Linked DNA regions of Homo sapiens: regions 2, 3 and 4 are each linked to region 1. The links are contacts of gene promoters, found by promoter capture Hi-C in blood cells and fetal thymus (Javierre and others, 2016). All regions are on one chromosome and are shown on one strand. Each heading gives the region's core, a stretch centred on a gene start or on the middle of the fragment in contact. The rest is flanking DNA. Distances are from core to core; before and after follow the strand shown.

What was found. Contacts are between HindIII fragments. The CHiCAGO score rates a contact against its expected background, and 5 or more counts as called.
Region 2: a fragment that was not itself captured here is called in contact with the fragment with the promoter of ST8SIA4 in region 1 in 2 of 17 cell types (activated CD4 T cells and neutrophils); the score reaches 6.3 in activated CD4 T cells.
Region 3: a contact is called between a fragment that was not itself captured here and the fragment with the promoter of ST8SIA4 in region 1, in 1 of 17 cell types (neutrophils). The highest score is 5.8, in neutrophils.
Region 4: a fragment that was not itself captured here is called in contact with the fragment with the promoter of ST8SIA4 in region 1 in 2 of 17 cell types (neutrophils and naive CD4 T cells); the score reaches 6.1 in neutrophils.

The regions. Positions count from the first base shown.
Region 1 is chr5:100,901,671-100,904,698 of GRCh38, reverse strand. It overlaps ST8SIA4 (ST8 alpha-N-acetyl-neuraminide alpha-2,8-sialyltransferase 4), which reads left to right and starts at 1,417. Exons shown (of 5, transcript NM_005668.6): 1 at 1,417-1,856. The coding sequence starts at 1,744. LOC107986437 (a long non-coding RNA gene) reads right to left here and starts at 1,291. Exons shown (of 2, transcript XR_001742825.3): 1 at 1-1,291. RefSeq lists enhancers at 15-254, 1,035-1,274, 1,760-2,329. The HindIII fragment of the contact is 2,860 bases long and covers 1-1,870 here.
Region 2 is chr5:100,609,639-100,612,463 of GRCh38, reverse strand. No RefSeq gene overlaps it. Among named protein-coding and RNA genes, the nearest start is that of FAM174A, 76 kb to the right of the region's middle. The HindIII fragment of the contact is 4,982 bases long and covers 1-2,825 here.
Region 3 is chr5:100,569,005-100,572,007 of GRCh38, reverse strand. All of the region lies in intron 2 of FAM174A (family with sequence similarity 174 member A), which reads right to left. Among named protein-coding and RNA genes, the nearest start is that of FAM174A, 35 kb to the right of the region's middle. The HindIII fragment of the contact is 8,247 bases long and covers 1-3,003 here.
Region 4 is chr5:100,549,375-100,552,346 of GRCh38, reverse strand. All of the region lies in intron 1 of FAM174A (family with sequence similarity 174 member A), which reads right to left. Among named protein-coding and RNA genes, the nearest start is that of FAM174A, 15 kb to the right of the region's middle. The HindIII fragment of the contact is 3,737 bases long and covers 1-2,972 here.

The DNA of each region.
Region 1 (3,028 bases), core at 168-2,667:
AAACTCTAGAGGAAGTATGGTAAACACTGGCGGGAACCTTGGGTTTTTAAGCAAAGATGCTGGCTGTTTTCGTTGCTATTTTAAGCTGTCAGGCGACAAGCAACTCAGAATTCCCCTTCTTACTTCCGGCGGGAGGGAAGATTGGAATTGGGCCTCATCATTTCTGAGCGTGAAAAACCGCTGAAGCTACTGTTCAACCTGAAGGAACACGGAATTCAACTGGAGAGAAACCCTGGCGACCAGGGAGCTGGGGACCGGCGCATATAGATGAGGGAAATCCTGGCTTCCAGACACTGTCTCATGCTAGAGGTGCCTCCCGACCTACCAGCCAACAGTAAAGACCGGAACCAAGGCGTGGTACTAGCAGAGTAGCAAGCATCTCTCCCAATGAGGGCAACGACTGGAGGATGGTGGAGAGGTACTCAGAGTGAACAATCGAACACAGAACTCTTGAAAAGTGTCCCTGCCACCCAATACAAGTACGAAAAATGGTGGGACGGAGGAGAGGTGACAATCAGAGGCTATATATATAATTGAGACTTTTAGAGAGGACTTTGCTCTTCCTTCCTCCCCTCCCTTTTCTTTCCTTTCTTTCTTTCCTTCCTTCCTTGGTATCCGAATGTGTGTGGGTGTACTTGCGTTTAAAAGAGAGGTCCATGGTAGCTGCTTTTTTTTCAGAACTCTGTTTCTCCGCAATGAAGTTTAAGTGGGATTGGAGTTTCCTTGACTTCTGCGTGAGGAGTTTCCAAATGGCAATGAAAGGGAGGCGCATAAATATCCATAAAGTTCCTAATGACACCTCTATCATCACTTGTTTCCTGCAGAATCCTGAGCCAGGGTCGTCGTCCACCACCCATGCAGAGTGGGCCCATCGGCTAACAGGTTCATGTGTGTATTTGCACTTTCCAGATTGAGTAATAAAAGTCTTCTTCCTTCCACCGCCGTCCCCACCCCCGCACCCCGTTTCACTCCACCTTGGAGGGCGTGTTTTTGCGTGTGAGGGTGTGTGTTTAGCAAAAGCGATTGAAAGAAGGTACTCTTCTTGCAATCCACCCCTAGCTCTACCTGAAGCATTCCTCTGGCGGGACGCTTTTGTAATCTGTCCCCAGGCGAGGTGCCCTCTCACCTAGATGCGGATAGACTATCTTGGAGCTCCCAGGTCCAGAGAGCTGATGCTTTGATGTCCCAGGAGAGTGTGTGTGATTCTGCGTGTACGTGTGTGTGCATATGTATGTATGTGTGTATGTATGTATATGTGTATGTGCGCGAGCTCGCAGGCGCGTAGCACTGTGAGCTTCCTCTCCCGGCACAGAGCAGGCAGAGCCGGGGACGTTACTCTCCAAGCAGCCTCCGCCCCCTCAGCCTGGTGATTGGCTTTGCGCAGCGTTTATCTCCTAGCAAGAGGGAAGGGCCAGTGACGCCCCCGAACCCAGCTGCAGAAGCTGCCGCCACCTCCAATGCACAAGGTGTCTCATCTGAAAAGAAACCTGAGCCCCAGGGAGGCGGCGCGGAGCGACCCTGGCAGAGCTGGCGCAAACAGGGCGAGAGGTCGCTGGGCAGCGTTCGAGGACCAGAGGGAGCTCGGCCACAGAAGACCCCAGTGATCTGATCCCGGGATCCCGGCTCCAAGCTCTCCTCGCATTTTACAGATTTCACCCCCGCGACTATCTCCCCAAAACGGAGCCTTTATATCAAGAGAAGGTGCGGGAGCTGGGGCAACCAGGACTTTCTCGGGCACCCAAGATGCGCTCCATTAGGAAGAGGTGGACGATCTGCACAATAAGTCTGCTCCTGATCTTTTATAAGACAAAAGAAATAGCAAGAACTGAGGAGCACCAGGAGACGCAACTCATCGGGTAAATGCAAAGCTTCATTTCAGGATATGACAAAAAGTCAAGCCATAAATGAAATGTGAATATAGAGGGTAGAGTGATGGTTAGGATAGCATGTGTGTTTGTTTGAGCTTGCGCGTGGTTAGTGTCATGAATTAAATAACAAAGGCTGTTGTTGAGATGTGCGTGCTTCTCTAAGCTGTTCCCAGTATGAGTTCAACTTGCTCTGTGTGGTTGTGGTGACAGTTGTGTTGGCCCTGGGTGCTCTCTCGCCAAAGGAGAAGTCACTGCAGAAGTGTCAACAAAGAACGTGTGTCCTTGTCCTTTTAATCTGTGGGCAGAACTCAAGAGAAATGTCTTTATTCACCAAACGGTTGCCTGTTTTCAATGTCCTATCACCTAAGGAGATACTGGAGATAGATGGTTTCTCGAAGGGCTGAAGTTAAAGCTTAGAAAGCAGGAAATAGGTATACTCTGTTTCTCTACTTTTTTTTTTTCTATTTGACGTTGGATAGATTAATGTGTTATAATTTGAATTAGAAACTCCAGTACCACTAAGGATACTTCCTTATTTGTTCTTCTACGGCTAAAACGCATGGGCGTCATGGTTACAGTTTTAGAAAGAAACTGGGTACTGTAGCTTCACACAGACTATATTTCTGCTATTTTTTTTAGTTTGTCTAGATGAGTTCAGACTCTCCCCCGCCCCACTAAGTTCTCTAAATATCACACTTCCTTCCACCCGCTGGCCTCTGTGTCTTTGAAGTTTACCCAGGAGGTGGTGCAACTTTGTGTTGCTGACATAGCTTGGAAGGCTTTTTCTGAGGATGTGAACCTGATTGTCAACTCTATTCAAAGTCCTGTTTCGGAAATCCTCCCTGTTCCGGTTTGGAGGCGTCCTCTATCAGAAACTACACACCAGCAGAGATGCCTGCCCAGTTTATATTTTTCTCTGACATTGATTAAAACAAAGAAAACAGCCCTTGCGTGTGTGTGTATGTGTGTGTGAGAGAGAGAGAGATGGGACTGCTAACACACACACATGCTCTTAAACTTCCTGCACTCCATTTCTTAATATTCCTGCTCCCTAGGTAATAAGCATTTATTTAAGCGAGCAAGATGCAGGTTGATCCTTACAGAAGGACTTGCTATTCTGTAGAAAACCAGGAAAACAGTAGCACAGTCAAAGCGGACTG
Region 2 (2,825 bases), core at 214-2,713, 290 kb after region 1:
TTATCTTCCTTATTGTGAATATTAATATTAATGTGTATTTCATCCTTTTGCAATTTTGTTTGTATTCCATGCTGCCTTTGATACATTGTTTTCTTTTTACCTTTTGTTGAATTCATAAGCTCCTCCTTTTCCCCATTACTCATAATTAAGTTATACATTCTATTTTTAACCTTATTGATCAGCCTTAAATACAAAACAGACTTATTTACTTTCAAAGTTTTCTGAAAAATTTCAAAGCCAGTACAGAAATATATTTTGCCTTCTCTCCCAACTGTTTATTCTTCCTTCTTCTTCTAAACTTATTTGTATTAAACAACATGGTTTATCAATTAATTTTTTAATCATTTCTTCCTGCTTTCCACTCTGTTCTTCTGGATTCATTTTATTTCTTATTGAAATGTATCCTTTAATAATTTTTCCCTTAAACTACTCACATCTATGAAACTCTTAATCATGTTTTGCCTATACATGTATTTATTTTATTTCTACTTTTGAATAAAAGATGAGCTTAATAGAAAATTCTAGGTTGCACAATTAGAAACAGCAAAGGGGATGATATCACTAACGCCAGAGAAACATTTCTCTGGACACAAATTAGAAAATCTAGAAGAAATTGATAAATTCTTGAACACCTTACCTAGACTTAAACAGGAAAAGTTGAATTTCTGAACAAACCAATAACAAACTCCGAAATTGAATCAGTAATAAATAGCTTACCAACCAAAAAATCTCAGGACCAGATGGATTCACACCCAAATTCTACAAAATTTACAAAGAAAAGCTGATACCATTCCCACTAAAACTATTCCAAAAATTTGAGGAGGAGGGACTCTTCTCCAACTCATTCTATGAGACCAGCATCATCCTAATACCAAAGCCTGACAGATAGACAGACAAACACACACACACACACACACACACACACACACACACACAAAAGAAAACTTCAGGTCAATATTTTTGATGAATATAGTTGCAGAAATCCTCAACAAAAATACTAGCAAACAGAATTGACCAGCACATCAAAAAGCTAATCCAGCAGAATCAGTAGGCTTTATCTCTAAAAGCAAGGTTGGTTCAACACACACAAATCAATAAACGTGATTCATCATATAAGTAGAACTGAAAACAAAAACCACATGATTATTTTGATAGATGCAAGAAAGACTTTCAATAAAATTCAACATATTTTTATGTTTAAAACATTTCAATAAACTAGGTATTGAAGGAGCATACCTGGAAATAATAAGAGTCATCTATGAAAAACTCACAGCAAACATCATACTTCATGTGCAAAAGCTATAAGCATTCCCTTTGAAAACCAGCCCAAGACATGGATGCCATCTCTCACTATTCCTATTCACCATAGTATTGCAAGTCCTGGCCAGAGGAATCAGGCAAGAGAAAGAAAAAAAGTCATTCTAAATAGGAAGAGAAGAAGCCAACGTATGTCTGTTTGCAGACAACATCATCCTATACCTAGAAAACCGTAAAGTCTCAGCCCCACAGCTCTTAGAGCTGATAAACAACATCAGCAAAGTTTCAGGATACAAAATCATTGTACAAAAATCACTAGCGTTCCTGTATACCAATTACAGCCAAACCGACAGCCGAGTCAGGAATACAATCTCATTTAAAATTGCCACAAAAAGAATAAAATACCTAAGAATAGAGATAACCAGGGAGGTGAAAACCGATACAATGAGAATTACAAAACACTGCTCAACAAATCAGAGGACACAAACAAATGGAAAAACATTCCATGCTCATGAATAGGAAGAATTAATACTGTTAAATTGCCATGCTGCCCAAATTTACAGATTCAATGCTATTCCTATTAAACTACCAATGACATTCTTCACAAAACTAGAAAAAAAATATTTAAAATTATATGAAACCAAAAAGGAGACTGAATAGCCAAGGCAATCCTAAACAAAAAGAACGAAGCTGGAGGCATCACATCACCAGACTTCAAACTGTACTAAAGAGCTACGGTAAACAAAATAGCATGGTACTCGTACAAAAACATGCACAATGGAACAGAATAGAGAGGCTAAAAATAAGGCTGTATACCTATGACCATCTGATCTTCAACAAAGCTGAAAAACAAGCAATGGGGAAGGAACATCTTATTCAATAGATGGTCCTGGGATAACTACCTAGCCATATGCAGAAGATTGAAACTGGACCTCTTTCTTATACTACATAAAAAAATCAACCAAGATTAATGGAAGACTTAAATGTTAAACCCAAAACTATGAAAACTCTTTAAGATAAACTAGGAAATTTCATTCTTGACATAGGATCTGACAAAGATTTCATGATAAAGATATCAAAAGCAATTGTAGCACAAGCTGAACTTGACAAATGGAACCTAATTAAACTTAAGAGCTTCTGCACAGGAAAAGAAACTATTAACAGAGTAAACAGACAACCTACAGAGTGGGAGAAAATATTTACAAACTCTTCATCTGACAGAGGCTTAATAACCAGAATCTGTAAGGAGCTTAAACAAGTTAACAAGCAAAAATCATGCAAGGCCGTTAAAAAGTGGGCAAAGTACGTGAACAGACACTTTTCAAAAGAAGACATACATGAAGCCAACAAGCATATGAAAAGAAGATAAACATCACTAGTCATTAGAAAACTGCGAATAGAAACCACAATGAGATATCATCACCACCAGTCAGAATAGCTATTATCAAAAAGTCAAAGAATAACAGATACTGGTTGTTGATAAAAAGGAATGCTTATACGTTATTTTTGTGACTGTAAATTAGTTCAACCGTTATAGAAAGCAGTGTGGCAATTCCTTAAAGAGCTAA
Region 3 (3,003 bases), core at 277-2,776, 330 kb after region 1:
GGTAAAACCCAAACTGCAACAGTTATATGTTTCCTGATATTCTTTGATGGCAGACTTGAATTTGCCTTGGTTTACAAAATATGTGGCTAATATAATCAGTACAGTAACATATAACACATGTAACTATAGCCATCAGAGACTTTGCTGTAAAAATGGTTGTAAAACCTACTGTATCCATTGCAGGGTATTTGTAGCAACCTTGGCAATGGAAAGTAGATTTACTGATCACAATAACAACAGTAAAAGATGCCACATTTCTCAACCTTTCTATTACTTTATAATAAAGTAACAGTAAAGTAATAGGGTGTGTGTGTGTATATATATATATATATATACACACACACACTTAGGTATATACTTTATATATTGAAGTACATATATATTTATATACTGGAATATAGAAATATAAATTTAAATAAATATTTCTATATATTTATATATTTATTGGAATATATATTTATACATTTAAGTATTTAAATAATCACAAGGAAAAGCAGTTATGTGAAAATTACGCACATAATTCACCACTTAATTGATTTCTAAAGTCCAGTGTATTATGGACAAATTTCTTGATAAAGCAATTTACAATTACATGAGAAGTAACAGAAAATCTGAATAGCTCTATGTATATTAAATAACTCTTCCCATCCAATAAAAAAGTCCCTTCACTTAACAGTTTCACTCATTTGTTCTATCAAATACTTAAGGAAGAAATAATGGCAGTGTTACACAGATTTTTTAAATACATAGATGCAAAGGGATCACTTCCCAACACATTTTATGAGAAACGCAAACCCTAATATCAAAACATGATAAAGATAATATAAAAGACACACACACACACATATATATATACACACACATATATATGTATATGTACATATAAACTCTATAAACTACAGACAAAAATACTTTAAGAAAACATTAGTGAATTGAACCCAACGATATATAGAAGGGTACCATGACAAAGAAGGATTTGTCTCAGGACTATTATGTTGGTTTAACATTCAAGAATCAATTAATGAAATTCACCATGTTTATTTACAGAAAGGAAAAAAACAATCACTTTCAGTACATGCAGAAAAAGTATATGATAAAATTCAACACTATTCATGATAAAAACTCTTAGCAATCTAGAAATAGTAAGAAATTTACTTATGCTAACAAGCAATATCAAAAAAACTGACAGCTAACCTACTTAATATTGGGGCAAGCCTTATCTGATATTTACTTCCTACAATGCTACAGCAATAAAAATAATTTGATATATTATATGCATATAATCCGGGATATCCAACTATTTTAAAATCCACCTATTAGCAATCTTAATTCCCTCTGCAATCTTTGGCCATCTTTGTCATGTAACTGAACAGATTTAAAGGATCTAAGAGATTAAGATGTAGGCATTATATAGCTGTTCTGGGAAATCCTTGGTCAAGTTCCTATTTCAATGACTAAAGAGATCTTATATCTCCACATAAGTATAGACTTTTTCTTCCAATTTACTTGGGGGAAAATGGTATTAAACATGAGTATCATTTTTTACTGAAGTGAGCCACAATAAGATCAGTGTGCAGCTTTCACACAAGAAAAGTTTAAAATGTTTAATGAATTGATAGTGTAATGCATGTTTAATCTCTAATATCAACATTAAAAAATCAGATCGAGTTCTGCCCATTGAATTAAAAAGTCAGATAGGGTCCTTCTTCAAATAAAGTAATGGTATTTGGAATGTATATCTCATTACCGAAAAAAATGTCTAAGCCACAGAAGGTAATAGGAATAAACACACCTCTTCTCACACCTCTTTAAAAATGCTGTTATGTGGTAGAAATGTGGCCACCTTCCCCAAATTACAGTCACCCGACCTCTGTGTTTTAGACTCTGAAAAAAATAGCACAGATGTCTAGAATTAGTGTGAGTGTAATTTAAATGATGTTTGATATTGTTTCAAGAAGAGAATAAAAGGAGAATAGAAAAACTGTATGACTATTCTTTGCTTCTTTATGCCCTGAAATATCCATCCTTATTGCTCATTTTAAAAGAGAAAAGTAAATCTGGCTTAGAGAAGAGCATTATTCCCGATTTAGTCAAAACCCAAAAATTGTGAATCCCAACTCCATATCTAAGACTCCTTCATTCTGCACTGTGGAGATATATATATATATATCTCCATATATATGTATGTGTATATATGATTGTTAAATGCCTGAGGCTGAGCATTTTGTCCATTTTTGTGCACTATTGTATACATCCCCAGAGCTTAGTAGAGTGCCTGGGGCACATGGTAGTTAATCAGTGCTTTTAATGAAAGAATGAATCTATCCAATTTGCTCTGCCCAGTAGGATATCATCTTATAGGCACCTTCAATTTCTCATCATTAAAACTGATTTCACATTATCTGACCCATAATTCTGCTCCCAGAAATTTACCCTGAAAATCCACCTCCAACAATACAAAAACACATTTGCACAGAGTTATTCCTTGCAGTACTATTTATAATTACAAAACAACTAAAAACTACCTAAATGTCAAACCATAGGTGATTGAATAAACCATGGTTATTATGCTATAGCCACTATTGAATAATATGCAGCTGTAAATATATATATATAATAATAGCCTCTATAGAGTAATATGTAACTCTATGTCATATATGTTCATATACATATGACATAGTAAATGGCATGACTTATAGCTACATATTACTCTATTGTGATTATAATACATACATATATGGCATGACTTATAGAAAATATCAAATACAACAAAAAAGTATAATACAGCATATATAGCATATTACATCTTATGTAAGAAATGAGGTAAACATAAGAAATACATGTTTCTGTCAACTTTTACCAAAAAAACTATAGGGAAGATAAACCAGAAAATAATGAAGTTGTTTGTCTTCAAAGGATGAGGTGGGAAGAATGGAGTAGAGAGTGGAAAGTATACAAGACAGACTAGAACTTTTGTGTGTGTCTGTATATTTTTGTGTGTGT
Region 4 (2,972 bases), core at 293-2,792, 350 kb after region 1:
AATGAAACAGTGAATAATAATCTATAACTAAAATAAAATTTTTTTCTTGACTATTCTTAGAAAAAAGTAAACTAGTGACCAAGAATAAATGTGAAAATTTCTTTACTGCTGAAACATAAATGAATAAAAATTAGTGAACCACAATTGTAGTTGTCTATACTTTTCATCAGGAAGTCCAACCCAATTGAATATATGACACATAGTAAAAATTCTTTTGACCAATCTGACATCATTCTCATCTTTATTCCCCATTTCCACAACCCAATCCATCAGTTGTCACTTCCACTTCTTCAAGAATCAGATACTAATAAGGGATATGTCTGCATGTTACAGGTTGAACTGCGTCTTCCAAAAATTCATATGTTGAAGTCCTAATCCCCGGTACTGCAAAATGTGGCCTTATTTAGAAATAAGGTCTTTATAGAGGTAATCAAGTTAAAATGAGATCATTAAGGTAGGCCCTCATCCAATGTGACTGATGTCCTTATAAACAGGGAAATTTTGGAGACAGACACGCACACAGGCAGAACGCCATGTGAACATGAAAACATCATTAAAAAGATCAAGAGAGGCCCAGAACAGATCCTTCCCTCACAGACCTCAGAAGGAACCAGCCCTGCCAGTATCTTGATTTTGGATTTCTAGCCTCCAGAACTGTGAGACAATAAATTTCTGTTGTTTAAGCCAGCCCACTTGTACTTTTTTGCAACAGCTCTAACAAATTAATATAGAATACAAGAGAATTGTTAGGGAAGGGCCTGTGAAGGATAAAGAGAGAGAGGAAAGGGAAATTAAGGAGATCTTACAAAGGGTAATAGAGATCTGACACCTGTGAAAGAGTGGAAAGGAAGGATGACCAGCTAGAAAGAGCTGTAGCTTGCAGTGCAGTTCTGGAAGAGTCTTCACCAGGCCAGTGGCATGCCTGTAAGCAAAGGCTGCCCATTAGCGGAGTTCCCTGTTAGTCAGGATGGCCAGGCTCTGCTCCACTCAGTCATCGGCTAGGGACAAGTTTAGGGGTTATTGTCCTGGCATGAATGCTGTGATGGACCCAAATCTGTGACAGCAGGAAGATGTCAAGCCACTTTGCTTCCCGTAGCATGTTCTCTTGAATGGAGGTCTGATTAGTGTATCTCCATGGCTGCCACAATCACAAGGTATTATTGATTGTACTTCCTAAAAATAATTTAAATTCATTTATATTGCTTACCATACCACTGCTATCCTATCATCTCTTCCTCTGCTGACTAAAATAGCTTCCTAATTCACTATCTCTGCCTACTCCGGCTATCCATTAACCTTCCCTTCATTCTCTAAAACCTTCAATGGTTTCCTATTACTCAACATTAAGTAATCAGTCTATAATATATGGCCTACAAAGATGAGCACAGGATGGCTCATCTTTCATTTTTAGCCTCATCTTGTTCTTTGCTCCACATTCCACTCCAGGTTCTGAACTCCAGCCGCACAGCCTTCTCTCAGTTCCTCATGATGGCCATGCTTTCTCTGCCATTGGCCTCACAGTCTTCTCTCACCTACCACAATACTGCTGTGTGAATGCCTGCTCATCTTTCAGCTGTCAGCTTAAATATAACTTCCTCAGGAAACCCTTTTCTGTTCTACCTAACTAGGTCACAAACCTCTACTATTGGCTTCCACTGAAACTATATACATGTCCTTTAAAGTGCTTATGAAAAGTTCACTTGTATACTTATTTAAGTAACTATTTGTCATCCCTACCAGACATTTGATTCCATGAGAGCAGGAGCTGTATCTGTTCTTACTCACCACAGTAGCCACAGCACACAACTTCTGTCATAAAGTTGATGCCTGATAAATATTGCTAAACAAATTAATTGAGTAAAATATATAGATTGGCAATATATCTTCCATTTTCTCTGTATAAGAAAGATATCTAAATTTTTATATATAAATTATCACCCTTGGAATAAAACAAGCCTGAAAGAACATCATTTCCAGATACATACCACAACAAAATCTAAGGGAGCTAGCCAAATTTAAAATCGTAATATGGACCTCTGGAGGCAACAGCTTTCTGACTCAGGACAAAAAAATAAAGTACTGGAATATTTAAATATATTAAACATGTACTCACATCAGGAGCTCTAAGATTTCATTTAGGATGTTTTAGGCATGATCCAGGCAACTGTCATACTCTAACCCAACTAGAATCCCTAATATTTAGTTTGTATCCTATGCTGAGTTTTATTTTTGTCCTTTTGGTATGCAAATTTACCATATTCTAAAAACACAGTTTTCCTCATATACACTATGAATAACTGAAGTTTATCCTTTCAAAAGCCAAACTGGCTTTTTGTACTACTTTTAACTTCTCAGCATTCTATATAGAACTGTATTCAATGCTAAAGATATTCCTGCCATCCTATACAGAAGAAAATGAGATATTTTAAAAGTCTCTTTTTAACCTCTCAGGATCATTATAATTAGTGACTTTGATATAAACTCTCAGGAGCTATTAAAATGTATATGACTCCATGTTGAAGTTCGCAGATTATTGTAGTTTTGAATTCCTTTAGCATTTTTTCATATTTTTAAAAAAACCCTCTCTATTAGCTTGACAGTTATCCAGCTCTGCCCCTACCACAATCTCGACCACGTGCATCCTTAACTAGAAAGTTCCTTCAACGAGGTATACTGCTACTGCTGAATTCTAATGAAGTGTTTACTGCTAACACCCAAAGGTCAAAAAAAAAAAAAAAATCAAAAGCGTGTTCATGTATGTTCAGGACACTGCAACCTTGTTTTCCTTGATAGATACCTTTTCTCTCCCAACTCCTTGTAATTCAGTACATACAATCACTTCCTGTGATTATGTTTGTCTCCTGTTGAAGGCATGTTGGCAGACACCCCCAGGTAAAGTAAATCCTAAATCAACGTTATATAGTTTGGCTTTGAAGTATTCCATATGAAAGTATGTAACACATAGTTTCCTT